2 separate regions of the Homo sapiens genome follow, and region 1 is linked to region 2. Evidence: promoter capture Hi-C in 16 types of primary human blood cells and fetal thymus (Javierre and others, 2016). All regions are on one chromosome and are shown on one strand. The core of a region is centred on a gene start or on the middle of the fragment in contact, and the rest is flanking DNA. Distances in the headings are between cores, read along the strand shown. Region 1 overlaps UBE2D4 (ubiquitin conjugating enzyme E2 D4). Region 2 holds the start of H2AZ2 (H2A.Z variant histone 2).

The links. The method cuts DNA at HindIII sites, captures the fragments that hold promoters and counts their contacts. A CHiCAGO score of 5 or more calls a contact.
Region 1: a contact is called between a fragment that was not itself captured here and the fragment with the promoter of H2AZ2 in region 2, in 1 of 17 cell types (activated CD4 T cells). The highest score is 5.5, in activated CD4 T cells.

The regions. Positions count from the first base shown.
Region 1 is chr7:43,929,700-43,932,399 of GRCh38, forward strand. All of the region lies in intron 1 of UBE2D4 (ubiquitin conjugating enzyme E2 D4), which reads left to right. Among named protein-coding and RNA genes, the nearest start is that of UBE2D4, 4.6 kb to the left of the region's middle. The HindIII fragment of the contact is 5,962 bases long and covers 1-2,700 here.
Region 2 is chr7:44,846,810-44,849,509 of GRCh38, forward strand. H2AZ2 (H2A.Z variant histone 2) reads right to left here and starts at 1,278. Exons shown (of 5, transcript NM_012412.5): 1 at 1,160-1,278. The coding sequence starts at 1,162. H2AZ2-DT (H2AZ2 divergent transcript) reads left to right here and starts at 1,662. Exons shown (of 2, transcript NR_187581.1): 1 at 1,662-1,712; 2 at 2,650-2,700. RefSeq lists enhancers at 861-1,418, 1,419-1,977 and silencers at 904-1,293, 1,554-1,613. The HindIII fragment of the contact is 6,622 bases long and covers 1-2,700 here.

The DNA.
Region 1 (2,700 bases), core at 96-2,595, 920 kb before region 2:
TCTGCCTTTGGTTTTATGCTCTGCTGTCACTATCAGGAAATTCTTAATAATTATCGAACTTGAGACCCTACATTTTCACATTCACAAGGCCCTGCAAATTCTGTAGCAATTCCTGGGGAAAAACAACAGAATTGTAGGAAATACAACTTTAAAAGTGTGTCAAGCCTGCCGTGGTGAGATGGCACCATTGGGCCACCACTAGTTAGGATGTCTTGGCTGCAAGTGACAGAGGCTGAGCTGCCCTTGTGCATGGAATTGGAGGTCCTGTGGCAGGACTTTGGGAGCAACTCAGTCCCCCTCTCCTGGTCTGTTCCTGTGTCACTCTGGGCTGAATGGCTCTGGAACACACAGCCTGCTGGACATCTGGGAGTAATAGAGACAACTGCTTCCAGAAGAACTGATAAGAATATTCTCAGAAAGCCCAGCAGATCTTTTTTTCCCTTTGCCTTGTTATGAATTATGTCTCATGCTCATTCCGAAACCAATGAGTGGCAAGGAGTCTGGTTACTCTTAGACCTGGAGCTGACAGTGAGTTGACCAGAACTGAACAGCAGTCCTTCAGAAAGGAGGAAGGCGGATGGGTGCTGAGCAGGTAGCCAGCAGTATGCAAGCCTGAGCCAGGTGTGTGGTGTCTACTAGCTGCCCCCTTAGTTTCCAATCCACAGCCCTTTCTAACCAACTTCAACCCTTTAAAAAAATGTTTTCAAATGAATGTTTCAAATTGAATATTTTTAGATGCACTTTTTAGTTAGTTAGTTAGTTAGTTAGTTTTTTGAGACAGGGTCTTGCTCTGTTACCTAGGCTGTAGTGCAGTGGCTCAATCATAGCTCACTGCAGCCTTGACCTCCTGGGCTCAAGCAGTCCTCCCACTTAGCTTTCCCAGTAGCTGGGATTACAGGTGCCTGCCACCACATCTGGCTAATTTAAAATTTTTTGTAGAGAGTGGATTTCACCATGTTGCCCAGGCTGGTCTCAAACTCCTAGGCTCATGTAATCCTCCCACCTCAGCCTCCTAAAGTGCTGGGATTACAGGTGTGAGCCACTGTTCTCAACCAGGACAGGGTTATATGTGGCAGCATTTCAATTTTTTAATGGTTTTTTTTCTCTTTGATACGTGTATTAGTCCATTCTTGCATTGCTGTTAGGAAATACCTGGCCAGGCACAGTGGCTCATGTCTGTAATCCCAGCATTTTGGGAGGCTGAGGCGGGCAGATCATCTGAGGTTAGGTCCTGGTCAACATGGTGAAACCCCATATCCACTAAAAATACAAAAATTAGCTGGGTATGGTGGCATGTGCCTGTAATCCTGGCTACTTGGAAGGCTGAGGCAGGAGACTTGCTTGAACCCGGGAGGCAGAGGTTTCAGTGAGCGATCATGCCACTACACTCCAGCCTGGGTGATAGAGTGAGACTCTGTCTCAAAAAAAAAAAAAAGAAAAAAAGAAATACCTGAAGGCTGGATGAGGTGGCCCATGCCTGTAATCCTAGCACTTTGGGAGGCTAAGGCAGGTGGATGGCCTGAGCTCAGGAGTTCAAGACCAGCCTGGGCAACATGGCAAAACCCCAGCTCTACCAAAAATAGAAAAAATTAGACAGGCATGGTTCTTGGCATGTGCCTATGGTCCCAGCTACTCAGGTGGCTGAGGTGGAAGGATCGCTTGAGCCAGACAGAGGTGGAGGTTGCAGTGAGCCGATATCGTGCCACTGCACTCCAACCTGGGTGACAGAGTAAGACCGTATCTTAAAAAACAAACAAACAAACAAAACAGAAAACCTGAGATGAGGTAATTTAGGAAGAAGAGTTTTAATTGGCTCACAGTTCCGCAGGCTGTACAGGAAGTATGGCACTAGTGTCTGCTCTGCTTCAGAGGAGGGGAAACTCACACTCACTGTGGAAGGCAAACCGGGGTGGGGGGGCGGGGGGGGTGGCAGAGCAGGCATGTCACATGGCCAGAACAGGAGCAAGAGAGAGAACAAGGGGAGGTGCTCCACACTTTTATTTATTTATTTATTTATTTTTGAGACAGGGTCTCTGTCACCCAGGCTGGAGTGCAGTGGTGCAATTTCTGATCACTGCAGCCTCCGTCTCTCTGGTTCAACTGATTCTCCTGTGTCAGCCTCTGGAGTAGTGTGTGCCACCATGCCTGGCTACTTTTTTTTGTATTTTTAGTAGAGACGGGGTTTTGCCATGTTGCCAGGCTGGTCTTGAACTCCTGAGCTCAAGCGATCCACCCACTTGGGCCTCCCAAAGTGCTGGGATTACAGGCATGAGCCACTGTGCCTGGCCATGACACACTTTTTTTTTTGAGACAGAGTCTTGCTCTGTCGCCCAGGCTGGAGTGCAGTGGCACGATCTCGGCTCACTGCAAGCTCTGCCTCCCAGGTTCACACCATTCTCCAGCCTCAACCTCCCTGAGTAGCTGGGACTACAGGCGCCTGCCACCACACCCAGCTAATTTTTTGTATTTTTAGGAGAGACGGGGTTTCACCATGTTAGCCAGGATGGTCTCGATCTCCTGACCTCGTGATCCACCCGCCTTGGCCTCCCAAAGTGCTGGGATTACAGGCACAAAGTGAGCCACTGTGCCTGGCCCATGACATACTTTGAAACAACCAGATCTTGTGAGAAGAGGATAATACCAAGTGGATTGTACTAAACCAATCACTTCCCACCAGGCCCCACCCTCAACGTTGGAGAT
Region 2 (2,700 bases), core at 28-2,527:
TTATCCCTAAAGTCTATTCCAGCTCTAAGATTTGGGTTTTTTACAATAACAATAAACTATACGTTAGACGTTGGAAGCAATTATCCCTAAAGTCTATTCCAGCTCTAAGATTTGGGTATTTTACAATAACCAAACATTGTCCTCTCGACTGGCCAATCTGTTTACAGTTAGGTGTTATGTCTATTCAATACCATATCTGTCACATCAAGCACAAGACAAATCATCTAATACTATCTGCAGTATGATAAATGACAGCTTGGTGCTAACTTTTAAGCAGGTAGCTCCCGTTGAAGTAACCTTTCAACAGAATGCTTAAAGCACGAATACCGGCAAAAATAAGATTCCATAACAGTCTTATTATTTTTACACAATCTTTGATGCAACTCAGAGCGTATCCTTTAGCACCTTCTCTTTTCCCCTCAACTTTAAAATGGGGCTGAAGTTCTATTCACTTTCATTTTTTTAAAGCCACACTCTTCTTATCTAGATCTGAATTTCAGAATGAAAAGATGAATACTTTAAGACTGAAAATCCATAGCAAGGGCAAAGGAAAGTACTGTTGTATAATGAAAACCGCAAACTGCAAGGGGCTCAGAAGATAACGGGCGTTCATTTCTAACCTGTGCAATCACCTAGAACAAATCGTGTGGTTCTGGTCTATAAAACCATTCTTTGTCGCTCAAAAGACCACAAATACAAGCACCCTTTCGCAGAAACCCTCAAACTGACTGCCAGGGAGATTACGTAACCAAACATCGCCAAAGACTTATCTAACTTGTACAGCGGCAGCCTGTTTGACCTCATTCATACAGAGAAGCGATCACATTAAGATCCAGCACTTGTTTCTACATTTCCAAGCCGGATTCTGCCGTCCTCCTCCTTCTAAGACGGGCGGTGCAGCGTCACAAGCGTCGGGACAGATCTATCCGGCTCGGAACAGACTTCGCGCTCTACCCGGCCAGGCCCAGCTCTCACCCGGGGACCCGTGTCGGGCTCCGCAGCTGGGACATGGCGCCCCCCGGCGGGCGGCGAGGGGCTCGGCCGGACGAAGCCCAGACACCCGCAAACTCCCGACTCCACAGGTAGCGGCGCCGACGCCAGGGCCTCCGCGCTCTGCTCTCCCAGGCCCCGTGCCCCCGGCCCACCCGGCCGCCCTTACCATGTTCTCGGCGCCGACTCCGCCTCCGCTCGGCCGCGCGCCCTCCCGCTGCCGACCCGCGCCGCCGCCGCCGCTCTCGCAGCACCGACCGCCGCCGCCGGAGCCGGACAATACCCCGTGCCCGCCTCGCGCTGCTGTGGCCAATGCCCGCTTGTCTTGCTGGTTCGAACCCCAGCGGCTGTTCAATCGCGCGCCTCCTTCTAGCCAGACCCCGCCCCCCCGGCACCGCCTTCCTAACGGCTGTTTGTTTTTGCACACGGCACGCGGAGGCGGGGCCTCCAGCCCCAATAGTGACGCGCTCTCTGCCTTTCACCAGGCGCCCAAGCCTGACGAACAGAAAGGCAAACCAATGAGATTGGACGCCTCGCAGACGAAAGCCAATAAAAATATCGCCCGCGAGCAAGGGAGGCGGGCCACTGGGAAGGACAGCAAAATTAGCTAATAAGGTGAAGCGATTGCAGGCGCTGTGGCTTTCCCGCCCATTCGCGGCGTTGGTTTTCCCGCTTCTGAGACTTGTTTGGGGAGGTAAAGAGTGTTGGACGTGCTTCTCCTGGTGGGTTTTCACAGACTGTGAGGATTTATTCGTCTTAGAACGTGTGGATCAGGAGGGCGCTGGGTTTCAAGGTTAGGCAGGCCTCATGCTCAGCCGTATTCTGGCGGACTGACTACCCTGACGTCCTCTCAGCGCGGACCCTGACAAGGTCCGCGGCAGGCTGAGGCGGGAGAATCGCTTGAACCCCGGAGGCGGAGGTTGCAGTGAGCCGAGATCGCGCCACTGCACTCCAGCTGGGCGACGCATCGTCTCAAAACAAACAAACAAAAACAAAAGCTATCAATTGGCTACATATTGTTATTTGTATGACAAATTCTTTTTCCTTTTTTAGAGATGGAGTCCTGGGACTACAGGCGCGCGCCCCAATGCCCAGCTAACTTTTGTATTTTTAATAGAGACGGGGTTTCTCCGTGTTGGTCAGGCTGGTCTCGAACTCCTGACCTCAGGTGATCTGCCCCCCTTTGCCTCCCAAAGTACTGGGATTACAGGCGTGAGCCACCGCGCCCGGCATGTATTACAAATTCTAAGAACACGAAGATAATGGGGCCGGCTTGGTGGCGCGAACCTGTAGCCTCACCTACTGTCAAGACTGAGACAGGAGGATCTCTTGAGCCCAGGAGGTCGAGGCTGCAGTGAGTCATGATCGCACCACTGCACTCCAGCTTGGGAGACAGAATATACCCTGTCTAAAAAATAATAATAAAAAAAAAGGTAATGGATGAGGCCGATAGTCAGGAATGAAATGACTTTAAACAATTGGGTATGCATGGGATTGGGTATGTGTGTATGTGGGGGCAGAGGGTGGGCATAACCGAAGTCCCATACTCATGTCCCTCTAGGCCTAATACATTTTGCAGACCTCACAGAGCTCAGACTGTTGTGAGCCGTTTTTCTTTTCTCAACCTCTTCAGTGTGTTTATTTTGCTTACATCATTAGGTTAAAATTTGGAGGATAACTCCCAGCTAGAAAGGAAGAAAAGCTCTAAAG